Regions from separate parts of the Homo sapiens genome. Here region 2 is linked to region 1. The links are contacts of gene promoters, found by promoter capture Hi-C in blood cells and fetal thymus (Javierre and others, 2016). All regions are on one chromosome and are shown on one strand. Each heading gives the region's core, a stretch centred on a gene start or on the middle of the fragment in contact. The rest is flanking DNA. Distances are from core to core; before and after follow the strand shown.

Region 1 (7,676 bases), core at 1,379-3,878:
CGAGGTGAGGAGATCGAGACCATCCTGGCTAACACGATGAAACCCCGTCTCTACTAAAAATACAAAAATTAGCCAGGCGTGGTGGCAGGTACCTGTAATCCCAGCTACTCGGGAGGCTGAAGCAGGAGAATCTCTTGAACTCAGGAGGTGGGGGTTGCAGTGAGCCCAGATCGAGCCACTGCACTCCAGCCTTGGCGACAGAGTGAGACTCTGTCTCCAAAAAAAAAAAAAAGAAATATTAAAATTTTGCTAATCATCCCAGTCATGTCTTTTTTCTGCTCCAGAGTCCAACCCAGGATCCCACACTGAATAACACTGTCACATTTCCTAGGCCTCCTCCAACCTGGGGGAGTTTCCCACTCTTTCCCTCTCTCAGGACCTTGATGCTTTTGAGGAGGTCTGGTCAGTTGTTTTGTAGAATGCCCCTCAATTTGGGTTTGTCTCATGTTTCCTTGGGATGTTTCAGGTTATGCATTTTGGGCAAGATTAGCACAGAAGCGATGTGTCTTTCTCAGGACATCCCAGCCGGAGCCCCAGGATGTCTATATCTCTCATTACCGATGAGGTTCACTTTAAGCGCTTGGTTCAGGTGGTGTCTGCCAGGTTTCTCTACTGTGAAGTTACTATTCATCTCATTGTAATTAATAAGTATCTTGTGGACAGGTACTTTGGAAATATGCAAATAGCCAGTTTGTTCTTAGCATACTTTTACCAATTAATTTCTAGAATCCAGAGATAATTGTAGCCGATAAACAATTCTTACTGTGGTGTTAGCCAGTGATTTTCTGCTTCCATCATTGCTTCTACACTGATTAACTGGAACGCTGCTGTAAGAAAGAGCTAGTTCTTCTTTCTCATTTATTTATGTATTCACTTATTTATATATATATCAGCATGGACTCTCAAGTATTTATCGGTTGGACTACATTACTATTATTATTGATTATGTTGCTATATTGTCCCCAAATTGGCCATTGGGAGCTTCTTCTAGTTGGCATTTGTGATACTTTCCACACATCCCCATCATTTTTCAAGTTGTGCCTTACTCTCAGGCCCCGCAAGATGCTCCAGTCTCCTCTTGTGGTTTCCTGCCCCAGCCCTGGAATCAGCCATTTCTCCAGGGAACCCTGGTTCCTTTCATGGGAGAATGATGTTTACAGACCATGGGCGCCCATATGCCCATTGCTAGTAGGTGCCGGTGCTTCTATGCCCTCTAGTGGTCAGAGCTGGGAAATAACACACCCACACTAGTGTACTGTTACCCACATTTCACAAATTAGGTAAATGAGGCACAGAAAAGTTAGGCAACTTGACCAACATCACAGAGAAAATAGGTAGTGGAACTGGGAAATGAAAATAATGACAGATGCACCACAAGTTCTAACAAGCAAAAGTAGCTTTTTCACACATCCACATCAGCAGAAAGCCACAAGCCCAATATTCCGGCGTAGACACTCTTTGAAAACCAGAATTCCACAGCAATAACCACGATGACAACCACCATGTACTCAACACCCGCCTGGGCACGGGGCTCCCACAGCAGCTCACTTATTCCCAACAACTCTGCAAGGAGGATTTTACCATCCTCCTTTTACAAATCAGGGAATCAAGGATCATAGAAGCCACGTGACTTGTCCAAGTCAACATAGTTAAGTGACAGAACCATTAGCTGTCCCCAGGTACATCTGGACATAAAGTTCATGTTTATGCCACTGTGTCAGCATTTCCAAAAACTGATTTTAGGCGAAACGTAAGTAAGCTTTTTAAAAACTTTAATACTTATGCGTTTATTTTAATATACATTGAGAAAACATTTAAGCACACATCAAATCTGTAATTTCATGGACAATATTGCATAAGACAAGGATGTTTTGTCTCCAACTCCTGGCCTCAAGCCATCCTCCCACCATAGCCTCTCGAGTAGCTGGGATCACAGATCTGAGCCACCGATCCCTGCTAGGACAGGATGTTTTGTAAACTAAATTTATTTAGAAAAAAGGATGAAATATATAATAATAAAGGTGGTACAAGCTAGAGAGAAAATCATAAAGTCAGCCTAGAAATGTCTGGTGTCTGGATGACATAAAGCTACAGCACTGTGAAGCCTCATTCTCAGTTACTCCCAGGAAATTAGAGTCACATAATGCTGCAGAAAGAACAGCTCAGAATCTTAGATCCGGGCTTTAGCCCTAGATATATCCATTTGTAGGACCCCAGACATCTCTGTGACCTCCTTGCTGGGAGTAAATCCAACCTTCCCAGACATGTGAGAACAGTAAGAAGACCCTGCACACACAAAGGAGTTTCTCCGTCACAGAGAAAATAACACCAGGTTCAGGGACCCCAGGGACTCTGCATGGTGCTGACAGACCCAAGGCCAAGGCAGAGCAGAGGTCCACGCTGGGGAGGGAGGGTCATCCTGTTATGAAACAGGGATCCAAGTAAGCCTTGCTTCTCAGAGCCTGGTCTGGGGAACTCAAATGTAGACAGAAGGGAGAAAGGAAGAAGAGAAAATGAGGCAAAACTGAGAGGGGAGGGGACAGAGAGGTGACCTGGGCAGAGCTTCACCCATGACCCTGGAAAGTGCTCCTGCCCTGGGAGGAGGCTCAGCATGGAAAGAGGAAGGACAGCAGAGCCTAAGTCACAGTAGCCCTGACTACAGCATTCCTGGAGCCCAGGCTCTTTTCCACAGAGGAGGAAAGAGCAGGCAGCAGAGACCATGGGGCCCCCCTCAGCCTCTCCCCACAGAGAATGCATCCCCTGGCAGGGGCTTCTGCTCACAGGTGAGTGGAGGATTCCTGGGAGTGGGCAAGAGGAGGGATCACAGAGAATGGCTGGGGTCTCCTGGGGAGGATGGGGCTCTGATAGGGGACAGAAGGCTTCTGCTGAAGCCTCAGGGGAGAGAACATCAGAGAGGGACACGGGTCACAACAAGACAATCACATTGAACTGGGATTGATAAGAGGGAGGAAAATCCATTGATCATGTTTTCCAAGTTAATCATTACTGGCCACTACAATTAGAAAATGATAAGAATAAGAATTACATCAGGGTGATACTTTAAATAAAAATATAACCAGGGCACTAAAACCTGTCTTTGACCACCAACCACAAGTTGCAAAATAACCACCACTCCTTAACTCATCCACCAGTATTTGCAATCAAATTTTAGGCACTGGCGTACAACAAATATCAGACAAGTCTCTGTGTTCAAAGAGCTTACACTCTTGCAGAGATGAAGATAGACACCCAAAGAGATCTAGAATGTGAGTTCAGGTGTTGACAAGAGCCCTGGAGGGAACAGAGCAGAAAAAGGTCAGAAAGGGAAGACCCAGGGTCTCTAGAGGAGGTGTCAGGGGAGGGATCTCCCAAGGATGCCCTGATGTGAGCAGGATCTGAGGGCAGTGGGGAGGGAGCCATGCAGACCCCTGGGGAAGGGGATTCCACACAGGAAAATGCCAAGGTTAGAGGTGCTGAAGAAAGAAAGGTCACGTTACTGACCTTGACCAAGTGGGACACACATACACTCTCCAAGGCTGAAGGGTGAAGAGACTCTCTCAGGACCCAGGGCCCCATCTTTCCATCCCAATACATGGGTCCCAATATTGACTGATGCTTTCTCCCTCCTAGCCTCACTTCTAAACTTCTGGAACCCGCCCACCACTGCCAAGCTCACTATTGAATCCATGCCGCTCAGTGTCGCAGAGGGGAAGGAGGTGCTTCTACTTGTCCACAATCTGCCCCAGCATCTTTTTGGCTACAGCTGGTACAAAGGGGAAAGAGTGGATGGCAACAGTCTAATTGTAGGATATGTAATAGGAACTCAACAAGCTACCCCAGGGGCCGCATACAGCGGTCGAGAGACAATATACACCAATGCATCCCTGCTGATCCAGAATGTCACCCAGAATGACATAGGATTCTACACCCTACAAGTCATAAAGTCAGATCTTGTGAATGAAGAAGCAACTGGACAGTTCCATGTATACCGTGAGTATTTCCACATGACCTCTGGGTGTTGGGGGTCAGTTCTACTTCCCACATATGGGATTGTCAGGCCTGGGCTGTGCCTGTGGCCCTCTCTGCATTACATTCTGTATCAGGGTTTGGACATTTAGTGCAGGACACACACGGGGGAGACAAACTTCCACAGATCAGAATTCCTTTCCTGCATCCAGACCCTGCAGACACTCGCTGCAGAGGAAGGACAGTCTGATGGGGGGACTCAGCAGGGCAAGGTCAGTGTCAGAAAAGAACCCCATGGTCTCCCCATGGACCTGACCCTAAGAAAGACCCTGGAGAACTGGATCAGGGCCTGGCCTGAGGGGTCCCCCTAGGATTCTCAGAGAGAAGCTCAACTCTTCCCAGAACTGAGCCCCTGTGCAAATCCCTGTCCCAGATTCCTGACTCCAGGTGACCCTGGGGACCCTAGGGATCCTGTGCCAGGGCTGAGTGAGGCCTCCTGGGCAGGGCTGACTGGGAGCAAGAATTTACCAGCTGTCTGAGGGTCGTGGCTCCTGGAGTTGGTCACCAGCCAGGGTCCAGCCCCAAGAACCTCTCCTGGGCAAGGACAGGGCCTCATCCTTTACCTGAGACTCAGCATGGAGTGAACAGATGGACAAGATTACTAGGGCATGAGCCCACTGCCCAGGGGAACTTAGATGACTCCATGGGAAGTTCAGTATCCCCAGGGGGAGGAAAAAGAAGAGAGAAGATGCTCCCAGCAGCTCCTTTTCCACAAGGGATCAGACTCAGGGACCTCTCTTTTGGAGGCAAATAAGCATAGATGCTGTTCCTTTGGGCAGCTCCTCTATACACAGCTGAGGTCAAGTAATTGTAAATATTTTGAGATTAATTCACAAACAACGTCACAGCCAAATAGCACTTATCCTACTTATTGAAAAAAAAAATTGAGGAACAGGGAGACAGTCACCGACTAGGGTCACACAAGTCAAAGGTGTCAGATTAGAGTCACACGAGGTCTCTCTGCAGCCACAGCTGCCTCTTCTCCACCAGGGGACGGCTGGCGTTATTATTAGACATCTGCAGGCCTGAGACCAGTCCTAAGTTCTCTTTCCTTTTTCTTGGGCATCCACATCTCAGAGGGGGAGATTTTGGTCTGGAGAGTAAGGGGCAAATGGAAAATTAATCAATTTTTCCTGATATAGTTTGGATGTTTATCCTCTCCAAATCTCATGTTGAAATGTGATCCCCAACATTGGAGGTGAGGCCTGGTGGGAGGCGATTGGATCATGGGGGGCTGTTTCTCATGAGTGGCTCAGCACCATCCCCTTGGTGACAAGTCAGTTCTCACTTTGAGTGCACAGGAGATCTGGTTCTTTAAAAGTGTGTGGCGCCTCCACACTCTCTCTTGCTCCTGCTTTTGCCACATGACACCACCTGCTCCCCCTTCTCCTTCCACCATGATTGTAAGCTTGCTGGGTCTCACCAGAAGCCGAGCAGACGCTGGTGCCATGCCTGTATAGCCTGCAGATCCCTGCATCAATTAAATCTCTTTTCTTTATAAATTACCCAGCCTCAGACATTTCCTTATAGTAACAAAAAATAGCCTAACACATTAGCCTAACCTAGAACTAAATCCCTTGTGTCAACAGAGTCAGTGCCAGGAATGTCCGGGCCTCCCTCTCAGATGCGCACCACTGCCCTCACTCGACCTGAAATCCTGTGTTTCCTGATGTGTCAGTGACACTCCCACAGGAGGATAAAACACTCCCCACTCACACCCTGCACCAGCGCAGGGCCCAGTGAGAGACACACACTCAGTAGTTCTCTGACGAAGGAGGGAAGGAATGAATGATGAATAATTCTTAAACTCTTCAGAGACCGGATCTTGGATGCAGAATCCTATAAGGTTCTGGCCACACCTGTTTCCTGTCCCTCCAGGGGCCGGGATCCTTGTTGCATTCCTCTAACCCCTGCCCCTAAAGCTACCCCAAGAACCGCATCTCATGGGACTCTGGCACAGCTCACCTGTGGGAAGGTTTTCAGGTCTCCCTGGTCCTGGTTTGTGGGCGGCAGGTCACCCAGGCGCCGAGGCAAGAGACCAAGGACACGAGCTGTTCCAGTATAATAAAATATAAAACAAGAAAAGTTATACCAGATATAGATCTTAGATATGATTATATGTGAATATCATTAATCATTAGTTGGTAGCAATTACTCTTTATTCCAGTATTATAATAATCCTCGCTCTATAATCACAACCTAGGAAAAGCCAGGCCATACAGAGATAGGAGCTGGGGAGACATAGTGAGAAGTGACCAGAAGACAAGAGTGCGAGCCTTCTGTTATGCCCAGACAGGGCCACCAGAAGGGCTCCTTGGTCTAGCGGTGACACTAGCGCCTGGGAAGACGCCCGTTGCCAGGCAGACCGAGGTCTAGCGGTAGCGTAAGTGTCAAGGGAAAACACCCGCTACTTGGCAGACCGGGAAAGGGAGTCTCCCTTTCCCCGGGAGAGTTTAGAGAAGACTTTGCTCCTCCACCTCTTGTGGAGGGCCAGACACCAGTCAGGTCCACTCGCAGTTATCCGGAGGCCTAACCGTCTCCCTATGATGCTGTGCTTCAGTGGTCACGCTCCTAGTCCGCCTTCACGTTCCATCCTGTACGCCTGGCTCTGCCTTCTAGATAGCAGTAGTAAATTAGTGAAAGTACTAAAAGTCTCTGATATGCAGAAATAATGGCATAAGCTGTCTTTCTCTTTGTCTCCTCTCTCTCTCTGCCTCATCTGCCAGGCAGGGAAGGGCCCCCTGTCCAGTGGACACATGACCCACGTGACCTTACCTATCATTGGAGATGACTCACACTCTTTACCCTCCCCCTTTTGCTTTGTATCCAATAAATAACAGCGCAGTCAGACATTCGGGGCCACTACCAGTCTCCGCGCATTGGTGGTAGTGATCCCCCCGGGGCCCAGCTGTCTGTTCTTTTATCTCTTTATCTTGTGTCTTCATTTCTACACTCTCTCGTCTCCGCACATGGGGAGAGACCCACCGACCCTGTGGGGCTGGTCCCTACACTGGTTCTAGAATAACCAGGGGTCTCCTGGTCCCTAGGGTCTCTGAGGTCACTGTAGTCCCCACAGCTCACTGTGATGTAATCTCTGGCTATCTCTGCTACCCCTTGTCCCTTATCTTCCTCCCCTTTCACACCAGTGAGGATGCCCCTGCCCTGCACAGCTTCCTCCACCCTTAGGTCTTCCCCAGGAACTCCCTCTAACAAGACTGGCTGTTCTGTTCCCTTCCCACTCACACTGTGGCCTGGCCCACCTCCGGGGCAATAAAAAAAGGCACAGAAATCAGCTGGATCAGAGCCCCTGCCAGGCTTCATCATGAGCCAGTGTCCCCAGGCCACCAGGAGAACGAGCTTCCACTGTGTCCCCACCCAGGGCTCTTTCCCTTCTTGAGGCCAACATGTGGAAAAGGCCACAGGACAGGGACGAGCGACTCCTCCACCTACTCTTGTAATTTCCCAGCAGGTTTTTCCTGCCACTGCACAGACAAAACCAATTCACTGAGACCACGATATTGCAGTCAAGAAAGAGTTTAATTAATGCTAAGTAAGCCAAACAGTAAGACAAGAGTTTATTATTACTTAAATCAGCCTCCCTGGAGGCTTGAGATTAGAGTTTTTCATGGATAGTTTGATGGCAGGGGACT
Region 2 (7,676 bases), core at 1,606-4,105, 650 kb after region 1:
AAAGTAAGAAATGCATTAGATTTGTGAGGACAAATGAGATAGTAAGTGTGAAGTGATTAGAACAATGCTTGTGATATAGGAGTTCTTAATGTGTCTGATATTATAAGTAATTTTATAATTAAATAATATTATAATTAATGAATAATCTGTTATTTTAAGTAATTTATTTCCTAATGACCTCATATATTCTCACTTATTTCTATTTCCCTTAACCCTGTGAAAAGCATATTGAGCATGTATGTGATTAAGAGATAAAATAAGATTAGACTTTATTCTGAGATTTATTTTGGGGATGGAGGAGCTATTATTTCCTTTAGCCACTAAGTAGCTCAGACTCAGGCCTGCACTGCAAAACTTTGCTTGGCTGGGAAACAAGATTTGAGCCCGGCCGCCACCCACTCGACGTGGTTTGTGATGGCGCCCCCTGGTGGCGCAGGGAGCTTTCCCCAGTTCCTCACCCTCGTGCTTTAGGAGCGACTTAGAAACTACTCAGTCCATTTATTAAACCCTTTCTAGGACACGCTGCGGATCATTTAATCTTCACAAGTGTGTGTGACAAGTGGTATTTTCTTCATTTTAAGATGATAAAACTGAAACTCAAAAAAGTGAGGCGACTTGTCTAGGGTTGCAAAGTGTGTGGCAGAGCCAGGATCTAGGTCCCCCTGACTTCCAAGCTGAGTGTAAAGGTCTAGGTGAGTCTAAAAGTGTGGCCATGCAGAGAAGTATTGGTGTAGAGCAGTGGTTGTTGACCAAGGGTGGTTCCCCCTCCGGGGTCATTTGGCGATGTCTAGAGATATTTTTGGCTGCCATAACAGGGGTTTGGATGAGGGAGAGGGGAGGCTGCTATTGGCATGTAGGGGAGAGAGGCCACGCGGATGCTGCTGAACATCTCACAATACACAGAACAGCCCCCACCGCAAGGAACTGTTCAGCCCAAATGTCAGTAGAGCTGCTATGAAGCCCTGGTTTGATTTAGCAACCTGAGGATGCATTCTTGCAGTTAGCTAATGTTTGCTGAGTACTGAGCTGGATAGCGTGAGGGATATGGAAACAGTGCACCAGTCTGTGTCACCAAGTAGTTTGCAGCCTAGAAGGACAGGGGGTGGGGGCAGGAAAGGCACATGAAGGCCCTCAATATAAGGCAGCAGATGATAAGTGCAAGAAGAGAGTGTCCAGCAGGGCTAAGCCAGCGCTCAGGAGGGAGACCACATGTCTGGCTGTGGGAGGAACTGAAGGAAGCTGTGGGAAGGTGGTTTTGAGCTGGGTGTGTGAGCAAAGTTGAACTGGTGGAAAAACACAATACCTGTTCAGGGAAGGGCAAACAGGTTAGTTTGGTTGGAGAAATAGTATTTTTAGTGAGTAGAGGGAGGTACACTAGAAAGGCAGGTTGGGGCTACAGCTTTGAATCCAGGCAGAGGACTCTAGCCTGGGTGTCTGTCATAGTGATGGAAAAGTCTTCCCTTTCAGAACAGTGGTCTAGGCCCTAGGGCTATGGGGCTTAACAGCTTCCAGAGCACTCTCTCTACAAAGGAGGGGATGTTGGAAATTGGGGTGGAGAAGGGAGAATGCCTCCTGATTTTAGGACCAAGTTGATGCTGAGTATGTAACATAGCCATTTCACCTCAAAGTGGCCTTTGGGGAGATGGTGCTCACAAGCGGAAATATACATGGGGATCAGGTCTTTTCTGCGTGGTTGCTCTGTGCAGGGCTGGGCCACTTTATAGTGAAAGCTGGAGCAGATTTGGAACCCCTAAGCTAAAGTCGGCTTCCCAAAATGTGAGCTGTTACAGCAGGGCTTGCTATGGATAAAGCTTCAAATATGGACACTACCTGGTGACAGGCTTTTTCTAGTTTATTACGTTACCAGTAAATAGCATTAAGACATGTTGGTGGCATTCCAGTGCACTGTAAAGAATAGAAGCAAGGACTTCCTGATCTTCTATAAAGGTACCATTGCCTTCAACACTCTCCCACCATCATCATTAAGTTTAGCCATGAGAATTATGTTACTCTTTTGGAAAAGTGTTGGGGGAGAAGGCATGGGAGCAAATCTTTGTTGAGCTAGTATATACATACATACGTACGTGTGTGTGAGGGGGATCAGCTACAATTGCAGATATCTTCTTTTCTTTTCTTTCCTTTTTTTTTTTTTTTTTTTTTTGAGATGGAGTCTCACTCTGTCACCCAGGCTGGAGTACAGTGGTGCCGTCTCGGCTCACTGCAGCCTCCACCTCCTGGGTTCCAGCAATTCTCTGGCCTCAGCCTCCTGAGTAGCTGGGACTACAGGTGCGTGCCACCAGGTCTGGCTAATTTTTTGTATTTTTAGTAGAGATGGAGTTTCACCGTGTTAGCCAGGATGGTCTCGATCTCCTGACCTTGTAATCCGCCCTGCCTTGGCCTCCCAAAGTGCTGGGATTACAGGAGTGAGCCACCGCGCCCGGCCAGTTGCAGATATTTTCACATACAATATCTCGTTTAACTCTCTCAACATTGTTTGGGTGTAAGTACAGTTTGCTGTTTTTTTGTAAAGGAGGAAACTGGCATTGAGAAAGGCTCACTTGCCCCATCCCCCATAGCTAAGAGAAGCTGCATTTTGATGTGTCTGTGGCCTGTTTTGCCACATTTCTCCCCCCGTTTTCCCCTTCATAGACAGTCTTGTTTACCTGGATTCAGGCTGCTAGAGACCATGGACATCAGCATTAGTGGCAGCAACAGGAGGAGGGAAGAGATTAGAACTTTCATCGCAACTGTCGGTGCAGCTGTAAGTTGCTTGAAGAATATAATGGAAGGTTCCCTGCTGGAGGCTCCTGATCCCTGGGGATGACTCAGGTCAGGATACTCAGCCTGGTGGTCTATGCTTTAGTCCCAGGCCAGCGTTCCCATTTGAGGGCGAGAACAGGTGAGGTGACGCTGTCTTGCTGTTACGTAACAGATTAGACCATGTGCTTTATGGGAATCTGGGAGGTGAAACTGGTCAAACAAAAGAAATTCAGCATTCTTAAGAACATAAGAAGGTGACTGATAACTTGGCAGCTGTGCCAGTTCTCTCCTGTACTCTTTCCCGCCTCCTCACACCCCAATGCCTCATGATTTCTTCCTCAAATCTTTTTTTCTTGCTTGGATTTCCTTATACCTTTCAATGACCCTCTCTATCTGAATATTTGGCAGGAAAGTGGATACTAAGTGTTGGTAGAAGAGACTTTGACAAGGTCTGTTTCCCCTCTGTGCTCCTGCTCCCATCCTTGGCAAAATATCGGCAATAGTAGTGTTGTTGCCTGGGAAGTTGCCCTGTCCTCTCTCTGTTCACAATTCCCTCCAATTCTGCAGCCACATAAGATGGCAGCAGAGCAGGATCCGGGACAAGAGGCAGCTCCCCTGCCGAGAACACCGCCCCTGGAGCAGTGGGTGACACCAGGCCTCCTTGTGTGTCCATCGGGAAGGTGGCCATGGCTTAGTTGTTCTGGTCTAAAGGGGAGGGAACTGGGTTGGGGGAAGAGACCCCCAGAGCTTTAGGTCTCAGAGGGTTTGAGAAACAGGAGCCACAGGAGGGAAGGAGCCCTGAAGTGTGTTTGCCCAGCTGCTGGGGCGCCTGGCTCCAGCCCTTGTTTGGAAATGGCCCCGGGCAAAAGAAGAAAGGTAATAATACTTGAAGTAAACATTAGGGGCATAGAATATCAGCACTCACTAAACTTGACATTTATTTGAGACTTTAGGAAATGTGCTCAAAGGGAGAGGAGAGGCTGGGCTTGAATGCTGGGTGATATTCATGGGGGCTGAAGGGAAGGCTAACAAGGGAGCCCTTTTTTTGGAAGCCTCCAGGCAGGAGTGAGAGCAGGGGGTGTGACTTTATTTCCCTGAGAGAAGGAAAGAGGAAAGGCATGAGTCAAAGCCCTTTGGTTTTGTTTGACCATTCTTTTTTCTCCACGTTTTCAAATTATCTCGGCCTGTTGACTTGTCACAGAGTTGATTGTGGACTTTGCTACTGCAGTGTTTATAAAGCACTGCAGGGGCCAGGGACTGCTATGACTGAGCCTGTGTCCAAGTTGAAGGCTCAGGGTGGGCCTAAGCTTGTTCTGATGCAAATCACTGATGTGGCTTCTTTCTGGAAAATTCTAAAACCAGGGAGATGACATCCATTTCATAAAGCCTAGAGATATGGGTGCAGTCATCTCTCAAAGTGGCAGGAGTGCAGGGGGACTGAGAGGGACTTGGTTGGGTGGAACTTGAGCTGGAGTTGGGGGAGGATTTGGGTTGGTGGAGGGCAGAGAGGAGGGCCGTGCAGAGCAGGGGCGTGTTGTAGGAGAGGTGCCTCCTGGAGCTCATTGGATGGGGATTTTAGAGGACAGGAGCTGTTCGTGTTCATTTTTGTATTGCTTGAACTTACACAGGGTCTGGCACTTTGGGAGTATTCTATAAATGACTGTTGAATGGAATGATTGTTTTGTAGCCCATTAACTGGGCCTGATGTATTAGAAAGTGTGCGAAAATGTAGCCCATTAGCAGAAAGAAAATCTTACTGAAAAACCATCCCATGTACAAATGGAGCCTGGTGCGGCCACTTTACTTATGCTGCTGAGTTCTGCATCAGTCCACACCCAGGCCACCGCAGGGGCCGGGAGCTCCTCCTCAGACCTACCTCCCGTGCCTCAGTCTCTTTACCCCTCTGTTCTTCCAGGTCCTGCTCCCTCTGGTTTCCCCTCCATGCACTTGGGGTGGGTGTTGCATCCTGTGTCCCATTGGAGGGGGCTTCCGGTCTGTTAGGTCTATTAATATAAAACACCCCCAAGACAAATGGACTTTTTTCTTGTTAACATCACAACTTCTTATGATGCATCTCAAGAACATTATTTGTGTCAAGAGTCTCTCTGATGTACAGAGGCCCTCCATTCCTCAGGAGGAGGTAAGGGGAATTTGGGAGAAAACACCGCCCTGCCTGGGTTACTTATTTCCCTATTCTACAGTGTACTTGGTAGACATTCAAAAATATTTGTTGACTTTGTCCATGATCCACATGGCTCTCATATAGTCATTTATTCACACATACATTCAGTGAGACTTTGAGCGCCTAGTGTGTGCCTGGTATTTACTAGATGGTGGATGCTGAGATCAGGTGTGCTGCTGTCTCTGAGGAGCTCTCACTATACAGTGGCACCTAGGGTGACCGAATCCACCTGCCCCACTTTACAGACATGGAAATTAAAGTGCAGGGAAGTTATAGGATTAGTTCAACAACACAGTCAGTAGCCTCAAAGTTACAGGAGTAAATCAAGTTTTCTGACTTGCTGGATTTTCTATTAGTGTGCAGCTACCTGGCTGCTGCAGGTGTAGACGTGGTGAGCTCCGATAGGAGAGAGGACGTTCAGAGTGAAATGGGAGCCCTGAGCACCCTGGATTAACCGGGAGGACATACCGGGTCCAGCTGTGACCGCACAAAGGACCATCAGGGATATTTGTATTCTCTTTTTCACTTTGAGCTTGAAATGAAGAAAACTGACCCCAGGAAACCAAGAGTGGAAGATTTTTCACAGGGGATTAGTGAGATGCGTCAAAAAGCCTGTGTTGGATGGGTGCCTGTAATCCCAGCACTTTGGGAAGCTGAGGTGGGAGGATGGCTTGGGTCCAGGAGTTTGAGACCAGTGTGGGCAACATGGTGAGACCCTGTCTCTATAAAAAGCTTTTTTGTTTCTTGTTTTAAAAAGAAAACCCTTTTCTGATGTCTGTCACGGTGTTTCTCACTGAATGGTAATGGTCTGACTTTGAGTGGGTTTCATCCATAGCCTGGAGCTCTGTGAGGCAGGGACCAGGTGTGATTCACCTTTGTCTCTCCAGTGACAGTACACAGCAGGATCCGATAAATATTTCTTACAAAATAAAACTGAATAAAAAGTAGACATCTGCACAGGTGTGGGATGACTAAGCAGCAGCAGGAGCAGGAAAAATCAGTCCCCCCAGATCAGCTGATACAGCGTTCAGCTTCTAGATAGGGGTGAGGTGCCAGGACGGGGATGGGGTTCCTGTGGCTCTGCTGCTCTGGGGAACACCCCTAGGATTCAGAGTGTAGGCTGTGGTTGCTGCACTTCACTTGCCCGTGGGAAAGTGAGCAGTGGGTGTGGGGCTTCAGGTGACCCTACGTGGGAAACGGCCGAGGGAAGATGGGGTAGGTGGCACATAGAGGTTGTTTTTTTATTTTTTTATTTTTATTTTTGAGACGAAGTTTTGTTCTTATTGCCCAGGCTGGAGTGCAATGGTACAATCTTGGCTCACCGCAACCTCTGCTTCCCAGGTTCAAGCAATTCTCCTTGCCTCAGCCTCCCAAGTAGCTATGATTACAGGCATGCGCCACCATGCCTGGCTATTTTTTTTTGTATTTTTAGTAGAGACAGGATTTCTCCATGTTGGTCAGGCTGATCTCGATCTCCTGACCTCAGGTGATCCACCCACCTTGGCCTCCCAAAGTGCTGGGATTACAGGCATGAGCCACTGTGCCCGGCCAAGGATGTTTACCAATATTTGAAGGTCGGTTGTATAAAAAAGTGTTAGACTTGGCTGGGTGCATTGGCTCATGCCTGTAATCTCAACACTTTGGGAGGCTGAGGCAGGCAGATCACCTGAGGTCGGGAGTTTGAGACCAACCTGGCCAACATGGCAAAACCCTGTCTCTACTAAAAATACAAAAATTAGCCGGGCGCAGTGGCGGGCACCTGTAATCGCAGCTATTCAGGAGGCTGAGGCAGGAAAATTGCTTGAACCCAGGAGGGGGAGGTTGCAGTGAGCCAAGATTGTGCCACTGCACTCCATCCTGGGTGACAGAGCCAGACTCCATCTCAAAAAAAAAAAAAAAAAAAAGGAAAAGAAAAAATGTTAGTGTCACATGCATCCATGTGAAGAGACCACCAAACAGGCTTTGTGTGAGCAATAAAGCTTTTAATCACCTGGTGCAGGCAGGCTGAGTCCAAAAAGAGAGTCAGTGAAGGGAGTTAGGGATGGGGCAGTTTTATAGGACTAGGGTAAGCAGTGGAAAGTTACAGTTAAAGGGGGTTTTTCTCTTGCGGGCATGGTGGGGAGATCATAAGACTCATTGTCCAGAAGAAGAATGTCACGAGGTTGATCAGTAGATCAATTGGGACAGGGCAGGATCAAGTCATGACAGAATGTCATAAGGTTGGTCAATCGGTTAAGATAGGAGTTGGCTGTTTCCCTTCTTTTGTACTTGTCGGTTGCCTCAGGCCATCTGGATGTATACATGCAGGCTTGGGTTCAGAGGCCTGACATTCCTGTCTTCTTATATTAATAAGAAAAATAAAACAAAATAGTGTTGAAGTGTTGGGGTGGCGAAAAAATTGTTTTTGGGGTGGTATGGAGAGATAATGGGCCATGTTTCTCAGGGCTGCTTCGAGCAGGATTAAGGGCTGTGTGGACCTTAAAGAAAATTTTATAATAGGTTACATGGAATAGGAGTTTAGGCTGTGGGGAGATCTTGGGGCAGAGGATGGTACTATGGGGTTGTTAAAAGTAGCATTTGTCATATAGAATGATTAGTGATGGTCTGAATGTGGTTTTGTGTGAATTGAGAAACCAAACGGAAGACACAAGGCCCGAATAAGAGGAGAAAAAGAGGTACCAGAGGACTAAGAATTGGGAGGACCCAGGATGTCCAATTAGAGAGTGCCCAAGGG

Evidence for each region. The method cuts DNA at HindIII sites, captures the fragments that hold promoters and counts their contacts. A CHiCAGO score of 5 or more calls a contact.
Region 2: the fragment with the promoter of CXCL17 here is called in contact with the fragment with the promoter of CEACAM3 in region 1 in 2 of 17 cell types (total B cells and total CD8 T cells); the score reaches 5.8 in total B cells.

The regions. Positions count from the first base shown.
Region 1 is chr19:41,793,959-41,801,634 of GRCh38, forward strand. CEACAM3 (CEA cell adhesion molecule 3) reads left to right here and starts at 2,629. Exons shown (of 7, transcript NM_001815.5): 1 at 2,629-2,783; 2 at 3,631-3,990. The coding sequence starts at 2,720. The HindIII fragment of the contact is 3,675 bases long and covers 1,758-5,432 here.
Region 2 is chr19:42,440,091-42,447,766 of GRCh38, forward strand. CXCL17 (C-X-C motif chemokine ligand 17) reads right to left here and starts at 2,856. Exons shown (of 4, transcript NM_198477.3): 1 at 2,664-2,856. The coding sequence starts at 2,742. The region is part of intron 1 of LIPE-AS1 (LIPE antisense RNA 1); the gene reads left to right. RefSeq lists a silencer at 285-374. The HindIII fragment of the contact is 2,256 bases long and covers 1,810-4,065 here.